Regions from separate parts of the Homo sapiens genome. Here all the other regions are linked to region 2. Evidence: promoter capture Hi-C in 16 types of primary human blood cells and fetal thymus (Javierre and others, 2016). All regions are on one chromosome and are shown on one strand. The core of a region is centred on a gene start or on the middle of the fragment in contact, and the rest is flanking DNA. Distances in the headings are between cores, read along the strand shown.

Evidence for each region. The method cuts DNA at HindIII sites, captures the fragments that hold promoters and counts their contacts. A CHiCAGO score of 5 or more calls a contact.
Region 1: a fragment that was not itself captured here is called in contact with the fragment with the promoter of ANGPT2 in region 2 in 9 of 17 cell types (naive B cells, total B cells, erythroblasts and 6 more); the score reaches 23.6 in naive B cells.
Region 3: a fragment that was not itself captured here is called in contact with the fragment with the promoter of ANGPT2 in region 2 in 12 of 17 cell types (activated CD4 T cells, fetal thymus, non-activated CD4 T cells and 9 more); the score reaches 12.4 in activated CD4 T cells.

The regions. Positions count from the first base shown.
Region 1 is chr8:6,703,104-6,706,824 of GRCh38, reverse strand. All of the region lies in intron 1 of MCPH1-AS1 (MCPH1 antisense RNA 1), which reads left to right. Among named protein-coding and RNA genes, the nearest start is that of MCPH1-AS1, 3.2 kb to the left of the region's middle. The HindIII fragment of the contact is 3,107 bases long and covers 559-3,665 here.
Region 2 is chr8:6,561,983-6,565,368 of GRCh38, reverse strand. It overlaps ANGPT2 (angiopoietin 2), which reads left to right and starts at 2,124. Exons shown (of 9, transcript NM_001118887.2): 1 at 2,124-2,722. The coding sequence starts at 2,435. All of the region lies in intron 12 of MCPH1 (microcephalin 1), which reads right to left. RefSeq lists enhancers at 2,255-2,781, 2,782-3,307. The HindIII fragment of the contact is 4,979 bases long and covers 1-3,386 here.
Region 3 is chr8:6,390,407-6,393,977 of GRCh38, reverse strand. No RefSeq gene overlaps it. Among named protein-coding and RNA genes, the nearest start is that of MCPH1-DT, 14 kb to the left of the region's middle. RefSeq lists an enhancer at 2,742-3,571. The HindIII fragment of the contact is 1,068 bases long and covers 1,351-2,418 here.

The DNA.
Region 1 (3,721 bases), core at 863-3,362, 140 kb before region 2:
TGTTAGTCACGAAGTTGTAAACTTTTGTGCAATGTTTGCCATGAAAACACAGAACTTAACTTTCTCTTGTTCCCTCTTTATCTCCAAACCCAGCTCCTGACTATCAGTTATTGTCTGTCCTGCTCCCGCTCCTCTCTTCCTGCGAACAGTCACAGATCCACCCTCTCTTTCTGCCACTACCCGGCCCTGTTTTTCTGTTTTTTTTTTTTTCCCTTTTTCCGTGCAAACCTCTTAGTTGATAATCAGCCCACACCCTCTGCCTCCTTACCTTGTACTTTTGTTGAGCCCTTGCAGTCTGATGACCTTTTCCTCCCCTTTACTGGAATGGTGCTTCTTTCAGAGCACAGCTGATTTCCTCCTTTGCATACCCTGCTGGGCACCAGTGGAACAGTGAAAGGTGAATTCTGTCTATGCCTTCCTTGTACAACATTTAACAAGGAGTTACCTGTGGGATGAAAAGGGGACATTCTTGGTTCTCTGGGAGCATATATCAAGGCAATCTAATTTAGTCTGGAGACAAGGAAGACTTCTCAGTGAAATGGTATTTCAGGTGAAGCTTGAGGGACTTAGTGGGCTTTCCATGGGAGAATGGCACATTTGAACGCCTGAAGCTGAGAAATCACCATATTCTCATGCATAGCACTGGAGTGGGCCACAGTGTTCTTTTTAAAATTTGTTGAGATGCCCCTTGAAAGAATGCTGTGTATTCCCATCACACATTCTTAAACTGATATTTAAATGTTTTTCTCAGCTGGGCATGGTGGCCTATACCTGTAATTCCAGCACTTCAGGAGGCCAAGGAGGAAGGATCACTTAAGCGCTTTGTAGAGTGAGGCCTCCATCTCTACAAATATATTTTTTTAATTAGCTGGGTGTGATTGTGCATGCCTGTAGCCCCAGCTACTCAGGAGGCTGAGTTGGGAGGATTGCTTGAGCCCAGGAGTTCAAAGCTGCTATGAGCCATGATCGCGTCACTGCAATCCAGCCTGGGCAAAAGAGAAAGAGTCCATCTCAAAGAAAAAAAAAGGTGGGGAGAGGGGGGCTTTTAATGATAAATTTAAAAAGGCTTTTAATTATAAATTTAAGTAGTTATGAAGTTCTGATGAGTTATGAATGATGTTTTGAAAATAAAGTGATTACAGAAAATTTTTAAATGTATGCAGTGAGTTATAAATATTATAGTGACTTAATATCCACCCCATCATTCATTTCAAAAATACTTAAGCCTTTGACCAGTTGAAAATTTTGCATTGATTATTTTTCTCCCTGAAAATATTTTTATTTCACTTCTACCACAGGATTCTATCATAATTGAATATGCTCTATCCTTCAAAGTTTTTTACTGATCAGACTGTATCATTAGGGTCCTAAGAAGCAAATTTTCTTCTGGATTGAACTGTTACTATTATTAGCAATACACAGTTTAATCAATGTGTTTCACAAAATCTGATAAGGAATTGTAGGCAAAAAAAAAAAAAAGTTACAAGAAATGCATCTCTTAAATAAGTTATCTCTGTTGGTGTCCTAAGGTTTATTACACCTTTCTACCTCAGCAGGGCAGCACAATGTAGTAAGATTTAGGATGTGCCAGGGGGGAGAGGAGCCATTATGAAATGCCAGGTGGGCCTGGACTGCAGGAGTCCTCAGACAGATCACTTTTAGAAGAGTTGGGATCTGAAAACTGAATCCCTTGAAACTCCTCATGACCACGTGTCCATATTCTCAGGGATACGCATGCCTCCATTTGAAGATTGTTTTTACAGAAATAATTGGGGTAAGGAAAGGAGACAAGGATGCTAGGGATTGAGTCTGGAAAGATAGGCAAGAACCAGATGACAGCAGGGTCTTGGGGGACACATAAGGATTTTAGAATTTATCCCAAAGGACAGGGAAGCTACTGAGATTTTAAGGAGAGGAGTGACATGCTTATATTTGATCTTTTTAAAAGTTGTTCAGGCATTGTGGAGAGTATATTTTAAACAGTTTGGAGACTATAGCTAGACTCCCAGCTAGAAAGGATGATGGTAGCTTAGCCTTTGGTGGTGACCATGTATGGAGAGAAAAACGAATCCCTCATGTACAGTGTTCTTGGAAGGAAATTTGACAGTATGTTCTAAGAATGGACAGCCATATGGTTTGGATCTGTGTCCCCACCCAAATCTCATTATCAGTCTTAACCCCCAATGTTGGAGGTGGGGCCTGGTGCCAGGCGATTGGATCACAGGGGCAGTTTTCTCATGAATAGGTATCACCGTCCCTCTTGGCACTGTCCTCAGGATAGTGAGTGATTCTCGCGAGATCTGGTGGTTGAAAACCACGTAGCACCTCCCCACTCACTCTTGCTCCTGCTCTCCCTTTTCCTTTCACCATGATTGTAAGTTTCCTGAGGCCTCCCCAGAAGCTGAGCAGATGCCAGCACTATGCTTCCTGTACAGCCAGCCAAAATGTGAGCCAATTAAACCACTTTTCTTTATAAATTACCCAGTCTCAGGTATTTCTTTATAGCAATGCAAGAACAGCCTAATACAGACAGATACCCTTTTAATCAGTCCATCTACCTAAGTGCACATCAGTAGCAGAATAGCTTTGTGGATACACAGTACTGATAAGTGAAATGGTATGCAGCAGTTGGACAGGAATAAGTAGCACTAAATGCGTAGTCGTGGACAGATCTCCAGGACACTAGGTGACAAAGCAAGTTGCTGGATAATACATGCACTATGATCCTATTTCTGTAAAAACTAAATAAAACTTTGGTCAGTTCCCATTCATGCTTTTATTTTGCTGTTTGCACAGATAAAACAAGAAGGCATTCCTGTTATAAAAAGTGTAAGCAATCCTATGTTTTGAATATTGAATGAAATGTGGACATTTCCCTCATGCCGCACCCAATCCCACTTTCTTACCCAGAGGTTACAGCTATCTACTTACGCAGTAGATGCTTGGCAATCCTTTGCCCCTTCCCTCCTTGAGGTGACTAAGATGGTCATGCAGACAAGCCACCCCTCCCAACAGAACCCATGTGATCTAGGGGGAAGCTGACCCCACCCATAATGGGCCACCATCAGTCTAGGGCTGTGTTTTTTTGACGTGTGGACCTTGAAGCCTTCAGGCTCCTCAAGATGCTTTCAGCTGGTCCAAGGGAAAAATGTTTTCACAGTGATACTGAGACATCATTTGCCTTTTCACTATTAGATTTACAGTGGTGATGCAAAAGCAGGGGTAGGTAAATCCACTAGCACCTCACTGAGAGTAAGGCAATGACACAGAAAGTTACCTACTAGTGACCATCATGTTCTTCATCACAATGTGATCATGGCAGAAAAACGCTTAAGAATAGCCTGAATGTGATAGCAAAAAAAAAAAAAAAAAAAAAAAGTCAATTTTATTAAATGTCAACTGTGGAGTACACATCTTATGAATACTCCATGTGACTAAATGGAACTTGCATGAAGCACATGGGAAGCATACCAAAGCTCAATAGCTCCCCTGTAGGAAACAACCTCTGAGCTGCAAGCTGAGAGCTACTTTTTTCGTGGAACATCACTTTTGCTTGAAAGAATAACTAGCAGATAAAGTGGTGAGTCTGGCAGACACTTTTTTCAAAAACAAATTCACTTCAAAAGAAAACAGTGGGTAATGTTGCCAACAATAAAATTGAAGCTTTCAAGTGAAAACTTGAATCTTGGAAAACTTATATTGCTCTATGAGCTTGACACCT
Region 2 (3,386 bases), core at 875-3,374:
GAAATAAAAAAATTGTACCCTATGCCACTGCCACTGCTTTGCATTCAGAGAATAGCAGAGTTATACTATTTGATGGTGGAAGAACTGATCCCCATTTAATGGAGCATGCCTGTAAAGAAAAGGAACAAATATTTCTAAACATACAATTATATCTTAATCCTAAAAACCCTACAGAGAAAAAATGATCTCCATCTTATGACTAGGGAGACTGAGGCTCCAAGAATGGAAGCATTTGCTGGAGGTCACACAGAAGCAGGGTTCTAACACAGGTCTCATCTTTAAGACCTATATGCTTTCTTCGACGGTGCACTGTCCGGATGGGTATAGCATCTTTAATTGGTTCCCTTAGTGGAAACCATGTCCAGAACCTTGGTGGAATCATACTACCTCTTCTACTAATGAGATCCTTCCAGAGCATGTCTTCCAGCTTTTCTGTGTGACAGAACCCTTTGGTTGTCTGGTGAAGCCTATAAACACCTTCTCAAAAGAAGACACATGCTACTTTATTCCAATGTTCAGTAGCAAGATCTAGGGCTGGGTTTAATAAAAATGTAGTTCTGAGTATTGTGGCAGCAAATAAAAAGAGCTGATTTCTGAGGATGAGAAAGTCACAGATATTCACACTGTTGTTCGTTAACTATTCATTGATAAGGGAAAGGCTGTCTTTCGGTTAGAGCTTAGTAAAAAATAAAGATCTTTTATGGGTAGATGTGGTCTGTTAAGTCAGTGTACCAGCTATTCAGCGCTCACTGGGAATAATAAACCTTGTACCTTGAGAGATAAACCGCAGCAAAGGCAGGGGGCTTTTTCCCTATGTACACTTGGGCTGCTGAGTTAACATATTATTAATCTCTGAAGTATTAAGTTTTAGTTGTTAAAGGAAGTGACTTGCAGAACTTACAGAGCCATAGGATTGAAGGTGAAAAATCTTGTGAGTGCACCCCTTGAATTGCACAGATGAGGACATTAGAGCTTAATTAAAACAGGGAAGTGACTTGCCCGAGTCTAATACCAAGGGGGACTAATGTAATTGATAATGTGTTACAAAATGCTGAGATGTCAACAAATTCTGACACAATAAAGAAGTTTGTGGGCCAGGCATGGTGACTCACACCTGTAATCTCAGCACTTTGGGAGGCCAAAGGCGAGTCGATCACAAGGTCATGAGTTTGAGACCAGCCTAACATGGTGAAACCCTGTCTCTACTAAAAATACAAAAATTAGCCGGGTGTGGTGGCGTTTGCCTGTAATCCCAGCTGCTCAGGAGCCTGAGGCAAGAGAATCACTTGAACCCGGAAGGCGGAGGTTGCAGTGAGCCAACATTGCCCCACTGCACTCTAGCCTGGTCGACAGAGCGAGACTCCGTCTCAAAAAAAAAAAAAAAAAAAAAAAGTTTGTATTCCTCTTTCTACACAGGCACTTAAATTCTAATTTCTCTATTGTAATGTAATGAACTTAATCAGTACAGTGTATTTTTAGAGTGAATATCCAAGTGGAGTTTTTTTAAAGAATAAAGGTCAGAGCTCAGAAACTGATGTTTCTAACGTGACTTAATAACAGATCTTTCTATCCAACTGTTCGGAAATGAAAATCTTTTGTAACTTGGCTAGTGGTTCAAGAATCAACTAAAATCAATGAATCTATTTTTCCCTCTGAAAAGGCACACGTTTACAGGAGCCAAACTTCTTCCTCTTTATTTGTAATAACAAAAATAAACCGAAGTCCTGACCTATTTGTAATATTTTTATTCCTAAAGGAAAAAACAGGAACTTTCATTGTACTTCAACATTAAAGTTATTACCTCAGATATTTTGCCAGCTTAGCACGGCAAAAATCAGTTTCAGACAAAAGAGATCAACTGCTCTCTCTAGGAAATACTTAATTGGGGTGGTGCCTAGGAAATGCCCAGGGGTCCTGTAACAGATCGGTTTTTCCCAGAGGGTTTCTGCAGCATGGGTCCTGGTTGGAGGGCAGGCATTCTGCTCTGATTTTTCCTGTTGCCTGGCTAGTGACCCCCTACAGGAAGATAACGGCTAAGCCAGGAGGGCGGAGCAGCCCACTACACATGTCTGGCTGCTCTTATCAACTTATCATATAAGGAAAGGAAAGTGATTGATTCGGATACTGACACTGTAGGATCTGGGGAGAGAGGAACAAAGGACCGTGAAAGCTGCTCTGTAAAAGCTGACACAGCCCTCCCAAGTGAGCAGGACTGTTCTTCCCACTGCAATCTGACAGTTTACTGCATGCCTGGAGAGAACACAGCAGTAAAAACCAGGTTTGCTACTGGAAAAAGAGGAAAGAGAAGACTTTCATTGACGGACCCAGCCATGGCAGCGTAGCAGCCCTGCGTTTTAGACGGCAGCAGCTCGGGACTCTGGACGTGTGTTTGCCCTCAAGTTTGCTAAGCTGCTGGTTTATTACTGAAGAAAGAATGTGGCAGATTGTTTTCTTTACTCTGAGCTGTGATCTTGTCTTGGCCGCAGCCTATAACAACTTTCGGAAGAGCATGGACAGCATAGGAAAGAAGCAATATCAGGTCCAGCATGGGTCCTGCAGCTACACTTTCCTCCTGCCAGAGATGGACAACTGCCGCTCTTCCTCCAGCCCCTACGTGTCCAATGCTGTGCAGAGGGACGCGCCGCTCGAATACGATGACTCGGTGCAGAGGCTGCAAGTGCTGGAGAACATCATGGAAAACAACACTCAGTGGCTAATGAAGGTAGGAAAAAAATCCATCTGTCTTTGTGAACATGCTATTAAGATCAGCTTGGCAGCAGCTCAGGTTTTAACAACCAAAAAAAAAAAAAAAAAAAGAAGGAGGATGAAGAGGATTAGAGCTGGAGAGCGGGTTGCTGGTACCCTCAAATGAAAGATAATTTCTTTTATTCTATCCCAGGGTGTGTGGGTAGTCCCCGGGGTGAAAATAATTATTTGGAAAGAATGCCAGAGTCAATACAGAAAATCTCTAAAGTTAGAAATCTTTATTAACAAGGTAGAGGAAATATACTTCCCTGCACAACTTGTGTGCCGTTCTGTTTGTTTACATCGTTTAAGCTCAGTAACACCCATCACCAGGGAGGCTCTCAGCTGGTTGCAGGCAAGTGAGGGAAGGCTGTGAGCCGCAGCAGCCCGTGAGCCAGAGAGACCGTGACAACCATGCTGATGACCGAGGCATAACGGATGGAGTAAAGTGCTTTACCAATTTCCTGAATTTATTTACTAAAATAGGTTGTGACTCTTGGTAAACGAGAGGAAATTAAATAAAGCAGACCTTATGTTTCTCAGAATCTCAGGGCCCTACCACTAAGGGCTTGCCGTCTGTAAACAGGGGCACAGTTCCCAAGCGTCCCAGAGGTATTCAGCACTGCAGCCCCCGTCAGTTC
Region 3 (3,571 bases), core at 635-3,134, 170 kb after region 2:
TCATGCTTATAACTTCCTCCCAAATATTTTAAGGAAAAATATATGCACACGGACATACATTCATATATGCAATATGATAATGAAGAAGCAATGGTGACATTTGGATCTGGGTGAATGGCTTATGGGAATTCATTTTTGTACTGTTTTGTACATTTTGTACTATTCTTGTGCTTTTGCTATAAGTCTGAAATTCTTTTAAAATAAGAAGGAAATACAATTATGGCAGGAAAATAGCTGACTGGGCCACATTATTAGCCCTAATGGTCCTCACCTCTCAGAGTGGAAGGCAAATACTGGTGACTGTTGAGTCACAGCCTCACGTGTCCAGCACCGTTGTAACCAACTAGACTATGTTTGCTTATGCACATGGCAACAGAAAATAAGGAGTCCAAGAATATGCAACCCAGAAATCAAACTTAACCATTGAATATAGCTGGCTTAGTCGGATCAGGGCTACTATAACAAAATCTAAAATGGGTGGCTTGGCCAGGCATGGTGGCTCATACTTGTAATCCCAGCACTTTGGGAGACCAAGGCAGGCAGATCACCAGGTCAAGACATTGAGACCATTCTGGCCAAAATGGTGAAACCCCATCTCTACTAAAAATAGAAAAATGAGCTGGGCGTGGTGGCGCATGCCTGTAGTCCCGGCTACTTGGGAGTCTGAAGCAGAAGAATCGCCTGAACCTGGGAGGTGGAGGTTGCAGTGAGCTGAGATCGCGCCACCTTCACTGCAGTCTGGTGACAAAGCGAGACTCTGTCTCAAAAAAAAAAAAAAAAAAAAAGTGTGGCTTATAGACAACAGAAATATATTGCTCACAGTCTGGAGGCTGGACGTCCAAGATCAATGTGCTGGCTGATTTGGTGTCTGGTAAAGGTCGCTCTTGACTTCAGAGATGCATCTCCTTGATGTATCTTCATGTGGTGGAAGGAGCTTTGTAGCTCCCTGGGGCCTCCTTTATAAGGGCACTAATCCCACTCATGAGGGTTCATAACCTAATCACCTTCCTAAAGTCCCACCTCCTAGTGCCATCAGTTTGAGAGTTAGGATTTCAATGTATGAGTTTGGGGGCAGGCACAAACATTGAAATCATAGCAACATCTCACCCTATCAATAGAAAGGCAGTTTGCTATCCCATTTAAAAATCATCTCTGTTAATGGTAGGAAGAATTTAGTATAGAAATTCTGATGTCTAGGAAAATACTGTTATCAAATACTATATTAAAAGAAAGGTATTCCATATATAAACTTTGGAAAGCTATTTACTCTGTCCAGAATATAGCCTCAAGTGTAAAGATTCTTTGATTTAGTGCTGTTTTAAGGCAGTTTTAGAGCGGTTGCAAAAAGCTTTGTTAAAAAAATGAAATCTTTAAGACTTGACTAAGCAATAGCATATTGAAAAAGACCTGTCCCTGACACAAGAAAATACTAAATTTAAAGGGTGCTATCATCAAATCCAATCTATTTGTTTCACAGATTCAAGAAATCAGGCTAGCAACTCAGAAAGAGAGCCACTTAAATTAGTTTCCGTTCTAGAACTCGGGCCTCTTGCCATCAGGCCTGATCTGTTCATTTCTCATTTGCTATTCCTTCCATAGATATTTATCGAGCATCTTCTATGCACCAGGAGCCGTCTTAGGCTCCAGATGGTAATGAACCTCTTATCACTTGACTCACTCCCTCTTCATAGGACCAGGACTACCCATCACGAAAGCCTAGGGGCTAAAACTCTCATTATTAAGAACAAAGTGAATTAAAATTAATGAGCTCAAGGAGACCTGATGTTTGCACTAATATGGTCTACTATTTTTTTGTCATAGCATTTCTATTCAAGATTTTTAATCAGATAAATCCATCTAAAAAAAGGATCTCGTAAAGCCTAAAAGAGGGCATCCCTGTTTCTTCATTTTTATTCTTCGCAGAAGGACAAAAGATGAAAGCTATTATTTCTCTACCAACCCTCACCTGCAATAAAAGGGATCTGTACTGGAAAGCCCCTTTAAACACACCCAGGGCAAAGGAAAAGTTGAAAGTATTGACTTTTGTGAAGCCCACACTTCGGCTCAGCAGGCGGAGGCCTTTTCAGAGATTTCTTCCTAACAGCCTGACAACACTTGGACAGGAATCAGGACGCGAACCTCTCTGAAAAGTCCCAGCAAACAAGTCAGATGAAAGGGCCGCACTTCAGAAAGAAAATGCTGGCGCCCTGGAGTCTGAAGTTACCTGCGAATCTTCCCTTCTCCCAGCACAGGGTAAACATTTAGGGCAGCTGTGGATCTGGGTTTCCTAGGAGTTCATGAATTTCAAAGATGAAGCACAGATCATTCAGGTACATTTTCCTTTATGGTATTTCTATAAAACCAAAAAAATTTAAAAGTTGGTGTAGAAAATTGACTATCATTCATTAACAGGAAGCTTTTTCGATTGAAAATACAGTTCTATTGATATTAGAAGCTAAGGTGACTTTTTTCTTGAATAATAATTGCCAAATACCCTTGTCTTTAATGGAAAAAAATTTTTAAAATGCTTTTTACGTTCTACAATGAGATTATTTGACAGGATAGAATAATTAGTATGCTTGCACTCACAAACATGAAATATTTCTAAACATCATGAGTATTTGAACTAAGTGAATGACTGGAAGAGGATGGGAAAGCAGAGGGAATGAAAAACCAAAGAGCCCCAATTATTTGCAAGAAAAATAATGATTTATCTTAGTTTTATGCCTTGGCAATGTTTTTGAGTAATAAAAATGCAACTTTGTGGCTGACTGAAGAATCCAAGATAGTAGAGTTCTTAGGGAATGAACTCAAATATGGCACAGGCAGCAAAACAATGAGAACAGACCTCAGCTGTGTGTGGAGCTGAACCCTGCAGGCCCCCGCTGGGCCCCATGTTAATCCTTCAGTCGCTGGATGCCTGGGAAGCCAGGTGGAAACCAGAAGAAAGGTAGAGATGGGTGGGGCGGCAAATCCTAAGATGGTTCAAGACAGCAGCATCTTCAAGTGACCCAGGAATATTCCAGTATTTTAGCAATAAGCATAGATCTGCCAGTGTGTCCCAGTTTGAATATGGGCCCTGAACAGTGAATTTTTAACACATCTGAGATCATACCACCTATAATTTGGTGCCGTACTTTTTTTTTTTCCAGTTTAACAGTATACTATGAGCATTTTCCCACAATGGTCACTCTCTGTGTTTATTGCTTTGCTTCCAGAAAGAATTGGAGGCAATTTAGCTTTAAATGAGACTAAGAGTGTTGAAGAACAATTGCTTTCGTCCACAGAAAATTCTTCTGAGCAACCTGGTTGATGATGGTGTATTCTCTGTCTCCTGAGGAAGGGACCCTGTCTATTTGGTTCACTGCTGTGTTTGCATATCCTTCCATACACCATGCTGGTGTGTCCAGAATTGGTTCCTTCCAGTGGGTTCTTGGTCTTACTGACTTCAAGAATGAAGCCACGGAACCTCACAATTAGTGTTACAGTTCTTAAAGATGGTGTGTTCGGAGTTTGTTTCTTCAGATGTTCAGATGTGTCTGGAGTTTCTTCCTTCTGGTAGGTTGGTGGT